Regions from separate parts of the Homo sapiens genome. Here region 2 is linked to region 1. Evidence: promoter capture Hi-C in 16 types of primary human blood cells and fetal thymus (Javierre and others, 2016). All regions are on one chromosome and are shown on one strand. The core of a region is centred on a gene start or on the middle of the fragment in contact, and the rest is flanking DNA. Distances in the headings are between cores, read along the strand shown.

Evidence for each region. The method cuts DNA at HindIII sites, captures the fragments that hold promoters and counts their contacts. A CHiCAGO score of 5 or more calls a contact.
Region 2: a contact is called between a fragment that was not itself captured here and the fragment with the promoter of MYB in region 1, in 1 of 17 cell types (fetal thymus). The highest score is 5.3, in fetal thymus.

The regions. Positions count from the first base shown.
Region 1 is chr6:135,179,398-135,183,178 of GRCh38, forward strand. MYB (MYB proto-oncogene, transcription factor) reads left to right here and starts at 1,911. Exons shown (of 16, transcript NM_001130173.2): 1 at 1,911-2,139. The coding sequence starts at 2,117. RefSeq lists silencers at 1,030-1,139, 1,580-1,629, 1,700-1,919, 1,980-2,029, 3,079-3,158 and 2 more. The HindIII fragment of the contact is 5,797 bases long and covers 1-3,781 here.
Region 2 is chr6:134,184,288-134,188,068 of GRCh38, forward strand. All of the region lies in intron 3 of SGK1 (serum/glucocorticoid regulated kinase 1), which reads right to left. Among named protein-coding and RNA genes, the nearest start is that of SGK1, 130 kb to the right of the region's middle. The HindIII fragment of the contact is 6,291 bases long and covers 1-3,781 here.

The DNA.
Region 1 (3,781 bases), core at 661-3,160:
GATTTACAAAGAAAAAAAGGAAAACTGAACTTAGTATCTTTCTACTTTAAAGGGGTTCAAGAACTTAGGAGTAGTTACACACCTCCTAAAATCTTGAAAAAGAGGCTATGAACTCACTTCACAAAGGGTTCAGATACTCACATTGTGTCCAAGAGACTCAGCAATTGGGAATCTTGCCAGTTAGATTCATAAAGCAATCCGAAAGCCAGAATGCAATTTCTTTAGGGGTGGTTTCTAGATGTTTATTCTAGATATTTTTAAAAGATTTTGTTTATTTTTGATGTGAAGAAAGAAAATTATTATAGAATCTAGAAATAAATATTGGCTTTAAAAGTATTAATTTGCCTTGTCCTTTGTAATTGTGATCCGAAATATCTCACAATAATTTTGTTTCAGTGTTATTTTCTTCTCAGGAGGAAAGGAATGTTAAAACCTTACTAGCAACTAACACTTGATAAAGATTTAAACTATATAACAATTTTAAAGAAAGTCTAAAACACCAGATAGTCTTGAAACCTCGCATGCTTCACCGTTTAATAAAATTATGACTCATTTTAGTAAGAACATGCTTTTTTAGTAAGAAAAAATGCTTTCTGAGCTAAGTTTGAACTGCTGGGGCACATGGGACACCCACAAACCCAGTCAGCAGAAGTCTCAAACTCCTAAAAGATTAAAGGAAAAATACATTAGTGTGTACAGAGAATGAAAAAAAAATCCCCAATGGTTCTAATCTATAAACGGAAGTAAAACTAAAACTCCCCTAAAATCCCCCCAGTCATCAATCCTTATAAATTCAGCACTTATCTTCTTCCTTTACTTCTGGAGACCCTCATTAAACAACACGAAAGCCTTTGCTGACTTTTATCTCGTAAAATAGAGCCCTCAAATGACACTAAGCAGGGATACCGACCTCCAAAATCACAAACTGTTTTACTTCTAAAACCATGCATGCAAACGTGGGGTTTCCTGAGTTCTGCTAGGGGCGGGCTGTCTGGACCCCCGTGTATTTTTTTTTTTTTTTTTTTTTTTTTTTTTTTTTTGCAGGTGTGCAATCCAGGGTGCGCGCTCTGTGCAGGGAGGGGAGCAAAGGTGTGCGGTGGGCACCGCCTGGGCCGGGCGGGGCGGGGTGGGTGGGGCCCGGGTGTGTGCTGGGGTGAGAGTGAAGGACATGTGACAATACGACGGTGGCGGCTGCAGGATCCGGGAGGGGAGTGAAAGCTCCGCTGGGGCGCTCCATTAGTGAGCGGTGATGGTTGCCGCCCACTTGTATTGAAGCGTCCTTTGTCACTAACAAGTTAAATTAGAGATGTTATTTATTTAAGAAGAAGGAAAAAAAACCCTAGCCAAACAGCCTATGAATACATATGCTCACATCCCCTACTCCTCCAACTCCTAATTTCCCCGTCTCCAGAGGGCACAGTTGTAAACCTTGACGAAAATCCAATCTTCTGTGCGGGAATTTCCCCCCACCGCTTGCCGCCCCCGCGACAGTGAGTGGGAGCTGGAGGAGCTCTGGTCCCGCTGCCCGGGAGCACGCGGAGCCGGGCGACCGCGGTGCGGCAGCCAGGGAGGAGGGGAGGCGGCGGGACTGGGCGCGGGTCGGCGCCGCCGCGACCCGGGAGCGGGGTTTGCTCAGGAAAAGGCGCCGTCGCGGCCCCCGGCCACCCCTCCCTGGCCCCGGGCTCCCTGCCCGCGCGCCTCCCGGGCCTCGCGGCGCGCTAGGCGCACCGCGGCGGCGCGAGCGCCGAATGGGAGCGGCGACCCGGCCAGCCCGGCAGCCCCGCGGGCGGCAGCCAGGGCGACCGCGGAGGCGGCGGGCAGGGCGCGTGCGCACTGCAGGGGCGCCAGATTTGGCGGGAGGGGGAGTGTCCAAAGCTCTTTGTTTGATGGCATCTCTGTTTACAGAGTTTACACTTTAATATCAACCTGTTTCCTCCTCCTCCTTCTCCTCCTCCTCCGTGACCTCCTCCTCCTCTTTCTCCTGAGAAACTTCGCCCCAGCGGTGCGGAGCGCCGCTGCGCAGCCGGGGAGGGACGCAGGCAGGCGGCGGGCAGCGGGAGGCGGCAGCCCGGTGCGGTCCCCGCGGCTCTCGGCGGAGCCCCGCGCCCGCCGCGCCATGGCCCGAAGACCCCGGCACAGGTAACGGGGAGCCGGGCGGGCGGCCGAGGGCGGGGGCGCGCGGGGGCGCGCGGGGCGCCAGGCTCCCGGGAGCAGGTGGGAATTCGTTCCGGGATCATCTGAGGGGCTGTCAGACCCTCCGAGGACCTGGAGCCCCTGCCTCGGCAGCAGAAGCCGCTCCAGAGACTGATGAATGGAAGAGTCTTTGCGGGAAATGTATCCGGACGTTGGGAAGCACGCCCTGCGGCTCATTTTGCAAGTTGCATGGGGATACATTTTTCTTTAGGGGGAAAAAGAAAGCACGTTCCAGCCGAGGGCAGAGCGGTGCCCACCAGCCCCGGGGAGCCCACCAGGTGCCTGGCTTGATGCCGCGGGTGTCGGCGAGGGATCCGCAGCGTAATTGCTGGATGCATTGAGATATGTTTGGACTTGGAAGTGCAGAGCATATGGCAGATACAGGGAAAATGCTGGATTGTTTAGTAGCTGCAGGTAGTTCATTTAAATTTCATTCATTCTTTATGGAGGCGAGGACCAGTGTCAGCTGACAGGCGGCTGAAAAGCAGATTTTAGGGGGATAAAGGGGTCTCTACTTTTGCAAATTGTCTTAAGACCTGGTTTTGGAGGTTCGAATCATTTTTCTCTGAAAGGCTTTTACTTCCACTGCAAACATTGCACGCGCACCCACACGCGCCGCCGTCGCACATGTCACTGCACTTAGGGAGGCTCGCCGGGAAGATGGGTGCAGTCCCTTCACATTTTTGGCCGGACAGATGGGAAGAGGGAGAGGAGGAGGAGGAGGGAAATCCTCGTCCGAACTGTCAGTTGCTCGTTCCCCAGTCTCCACCGGCCTCTGGACTTTCCCAGCAGCACACGCCGGGGCTCCCTGCGAGCGGCGGGTGCCAGGGCTAGCTCGGCAGCCGTCGCAGTCGCCACTCGGCTCAAGGGGACAGAGGCCGGCAGCACCCAAGGCCGCTGCCGCGCAACCGGGACGCGATCCCCGCGGGCTCTGCCCCCAGGCGAAAGGTCCCTGCGCGGCGCGCACACGTGGATGCGGCTGAGGTCGCCGCGCCTTCTCGCACCCTCCTTCAGCCGCCTTAGGTCGCCCCGGCCGAGGCGCGGTGACCGGACAGACCCTCGCGAAGGAGTTCTAAGGCGAAGTCCATGGAGGCAAAGCAAATCCATTCGCCTTTCCTTAGATTGTTTGATTTTCTCCTACTGGTTTGTTGTTGAGCCTGCGGGCGCTGGTCCCCGCGCGGCGCTGGGAAGTTGCAAAGAGCGTGGGTGGAGACCCTGCAGCAGCACCCGCGGGCTGGGCTGGGCGGGGAGCAGCGCCGGGGCTTGGTTGGGCTCTGGGGACGAGAGGGCGACTTGGGGGAGCTCCGGGCTCCCTATGCCTACTCCGGAGCCTGGCCGCGCAGGACGGTGTGCTGCCCCTCGAGGGCTCCACTTTTCGCCTTTAGGACTTCACAGGACAGCTACCGGGGTCATCTGTTTTTTTTTTTTTTTTTTTTTTCGAGAGCTGAAACTGGCAGCAGGAGGAGGGAGTCGGGCAGGGGTGCTGGGAGGAGGCGCGGCAGCGGCTCCGCGCCCCGAGGTCTCGGCCGCCCCCGCGGGGCGGGGCCGCGCAGGTTCCCTGAGGCTCCAGGTAGCCCAGAGGGGAGGC
Region 2 (3,781 bases), core at 672-3,171, 1.0 Mb before region 1:
GGAGATCAAGACCATTCTGGCCAACATGGTGAAACCCCGTCCCTACTTAAAAAAAATATATACAAAAATTAGCTGGGCGTGGTGGTGCGCGCCTGTAGTCCCAGCTACTTGGGAGGCTGAGGCAGGAGAGTTGCTTGAACGCAGGAGGCAGAGGCCGCAGTGAGCCGAGATCACATCACTGCACTCCAGCCTGGGTGACAGAGTGAGACTCCATCTCAAAAAAAAAAAAAAAAAAAAAAAAATCACAGTGACGCAGTGGACCAAAAGTAGCCAGCAGCTGACCTTTCTTTGTCATTCACTCTATTTCAATTATCTGCATATTAGTTTTATTATGTGACTTTTTCTGGGTTTATTGTTGATTTACCCAACTAGAAAGTAGTCTCTATGAGATAGGGATATCATGTTTGTTTGTTTAAGACAGGGTCTTGTTCTGTCCCGCAGTCTGGAGTGCAGGGCTGTAATCACGGCTCACCACAACCTCTGCCTCCCGGGCTCAAGCAATCTTCCCACCTCAGCCTCTCTAGTAGTTGGGACCACAGGTGTGTGCCACCATGCCTGGCTTATATTTTATATTATTTGTAGAGATGAGGTCTTGCGGTGTTAGCCAGGCTGGTCTCGAACTCCTGGGCTCCAGTGATCCGCACACCTAAGCCTCCCAAAGTGCTGGGATTATAGGCATAAGCCACCGACCCTGGCCGGAATAATTATCTATATTATTTGCCACATCATCCCTGGTGCCCAGGAGAGGGCCTAGCCCACAGGAAGTGCTTGAGAAATAAAATGCTTTCATAATGGTTTGCATTAAACCCCCTCTATGGACGATATCATATGAATTTGGCTTATAGAAAAGTATGCCATTGTAACCTGTTTTACTCTTGTCATCCAACCAACTTTCCTCAAGAACTTTAGAACTTTTCTTCCTGCCAGGGGATGACACAGTCACCTCATAGACTGTTTTCTTTCTGTCTTGCAGCCATGAAGTTCTCCATAATTTTTGTATTGCCAGAAAGCCTGAATGAACATTTAGCACAACCCCCTTCTACTTTATATCCCTTTATATCCTCCCAAAATAGCCTTCTCTACACAATGATAAGGACTTGATAAAAGGGCCCCTATTGTGCAGTCCCAGCCTGGACAAAGTAGTTTTAAAGCCATAGCAGAATGGCCATCAGGTTGTCAGAAATGACAAAAGCCACAGCACATATGCAAGTGGTACAAATGCTTAGTGCCAAGTTAAGATATGAAACTACACTTTCATATCTCTATGAGTGTGTGTGTGTGTGTGTGTGTGTGTGTGTGTGTATTAGTTTTCTGGAGAGACAAAACCAATAGGATATATCTAGAGGGAGACAGAGAAAGAGATGGAGAAAGAGAAAGAGAAGAGAGGAGATTTATTAGGGGAATTGGCTCATACAATTATGAAAGCTGAGAAATCCCATGGCAGGCTGTCTGCAAGCTGGAGACCCTGGGATGCCACTAGCATGGCTCAGTCCAAATCTGAAGAACTGAGAATCCGGGGGCTGCTGGTGTAAGTCCTAGCGTCCAAAGGCCAAAGGCTGGAGAACCTGATGTCCGAAGGCCGGAGAAGAAGCATGTATCCCAGTTCCAGGAGAGTGAGTGACCTACCCACGGTTCTATCTAGGCTCCCAAGCGATTGGACACTACCCCCCACACCCCCCTGTCCCCGCATTAGTGGGGGCGGGTCTTTTCTACTTAGTCCACCCAGACTCACACATCAGTCTCCTTTGGAGGCACCCTTAAGGCCACACCCCAAAATAATGCTTTGCCAGTTCTCTACGTATTCCTTAATCCAGTCAAGTTGACACTTAAAATTAACCATCACACGTTCTCACCTTTCAACTTGGCAGCCATTACACATCTCTTTGTATCACACTTAATCTCCAAATAAAGACAATAGCAAAGTGATAATTCTACCTAATATAATGCACCTGTTCTGTGTACAACAGAAAACATACCAGTCCCTTCCCCAGAAGAGAAGGTAAAGTCCTTGGGTGATGTTTACTCTTCTGCTGATATCCCATAACTTAAATACTATGATATAAAATTAACAATACTTAAATACTGACATAAAGTCAATAAATCTTGTAAATACTGATATAAAGTCAATAAATGTGTTACATGATAAAGACATAAGAGAAGAATGAAAACAAAGATATTAATATATGTACATAGACGCACAACATATTCTTAACAAAACAGGGAGGAAATACTCATCACAGTTGCAGTGCTTGGTTCTGTAACTGGTCACGTGATCATAGCTGGTATTTATAACTACCTTCCTTTACCACCCATTCTATATTTCCTTTACCTTCAACAAGAACCTCAGTTGATTGTGGTTCTTTATGTGGCAGGTGACCCAAACCTACATTTCTGAAGAGTCTGGGCCATTCACAGACTTACTCAGATTGAGTTGTTGTAATTTCTCATTGACCTTAATCACAGGACATGGTAATACTAAGAGACATCCTAAGGGATCTCCTGTATTTCAGACATACACTTCTGGGTTTTTTTTTTGGTTTTTTTTTTGAGACGCAGTCTCACTGTGTCGCCCAGGCTGGAGTGCATGGGTGTGATCTCGGCTTGCTGCAACCTCTGCCTCCTGGGTTCAAGCAATTCTCCTGCCTCAGCCTCCCGAGTAGCTGGGATTACAGGCACCCACCACTATGCCCGGCTAATTTTTGTATTTTAGTACAGACGGGGTTTCAGTATGTAGGTCAAGCTGGTCTCGAACTCCTAACCTCAAATGATCTGCTCGCCTCGGCCTCCCAAAGTTCTGGGATTTCAGGTGTGAGCCACCGTTCCTGGCAGACATACACTTCTTTATCTCCATTGTGGAATAGTAGTCCAATTTCTCCCTAGTATTTTGAATCAGTTACTCCAGCCAACATCATAACTCCCTTCTTAGCTTTTTGATTCAGAGGCATGAGGATCCCAAAGTGGCTGGGTGGTAGTCTTAACTTCCAGTTCAATGGAATCATTGTTGTGTCTCCGGAAGCACTCCTCCCTCTGGAACTAAGACCTCCAGGCCTGCAGATCATAAAGTCGTGGGAACAGAAAGCAAAAATGTTTCCAATGGGTCACTAGGGGGAATAGTGAGTGGTGCCACTCCCATTTCCACCCCTTCCACCCCTTCCATTTCTGGACCTGTGGATCCTGGCTATGGGAGAAGCAGCACCATATACTGGATGTTGATTCAGAGCATATACAACTTTCTGGAGAACCTTGCACCAGCCATGCAAAAAAATCATCACCGTAACTTCAAAAGGCCATTACACCATTCATTCTATTAACCCAGCTGCTCCAGGATGATGGGAAACATGGTTAAGACCAGTGAATTCCAGGAGCATGGGCCCATTGCTGCCTCTCTTTGGCTATAAAATGTATTCCTTGATCAGAAGCAGTGCTGTGTCTGTGTGGAATACCATGACAGGGGATAGGGCATTCTGGGAGTCCATGGATGGTAGTTGTGGCAGAAGCATTGTGTTCAAGGAAGGCAAATCCATATTCAGAATAAGTGTCTACTGCAGTAAGGACAAAACACTGCTTCTTCCATGATGGAAGCTGTCCAATATAATCAGCCTGCGACCAGGTGGCTGGCAGATCACCCCGAGGAAAGGTGCCATATCAGAGGCTCAGTGTTCATTTCTGTTGCTGGCAGATTGGGCACTCAGCAGTGGCTGTAGCCAGGTTGGCCTTAGTGAGTGGACGTCCATGTTGCTGAGTCCATGCATAACCTCCATCCTTGCCACCATGGCTACTT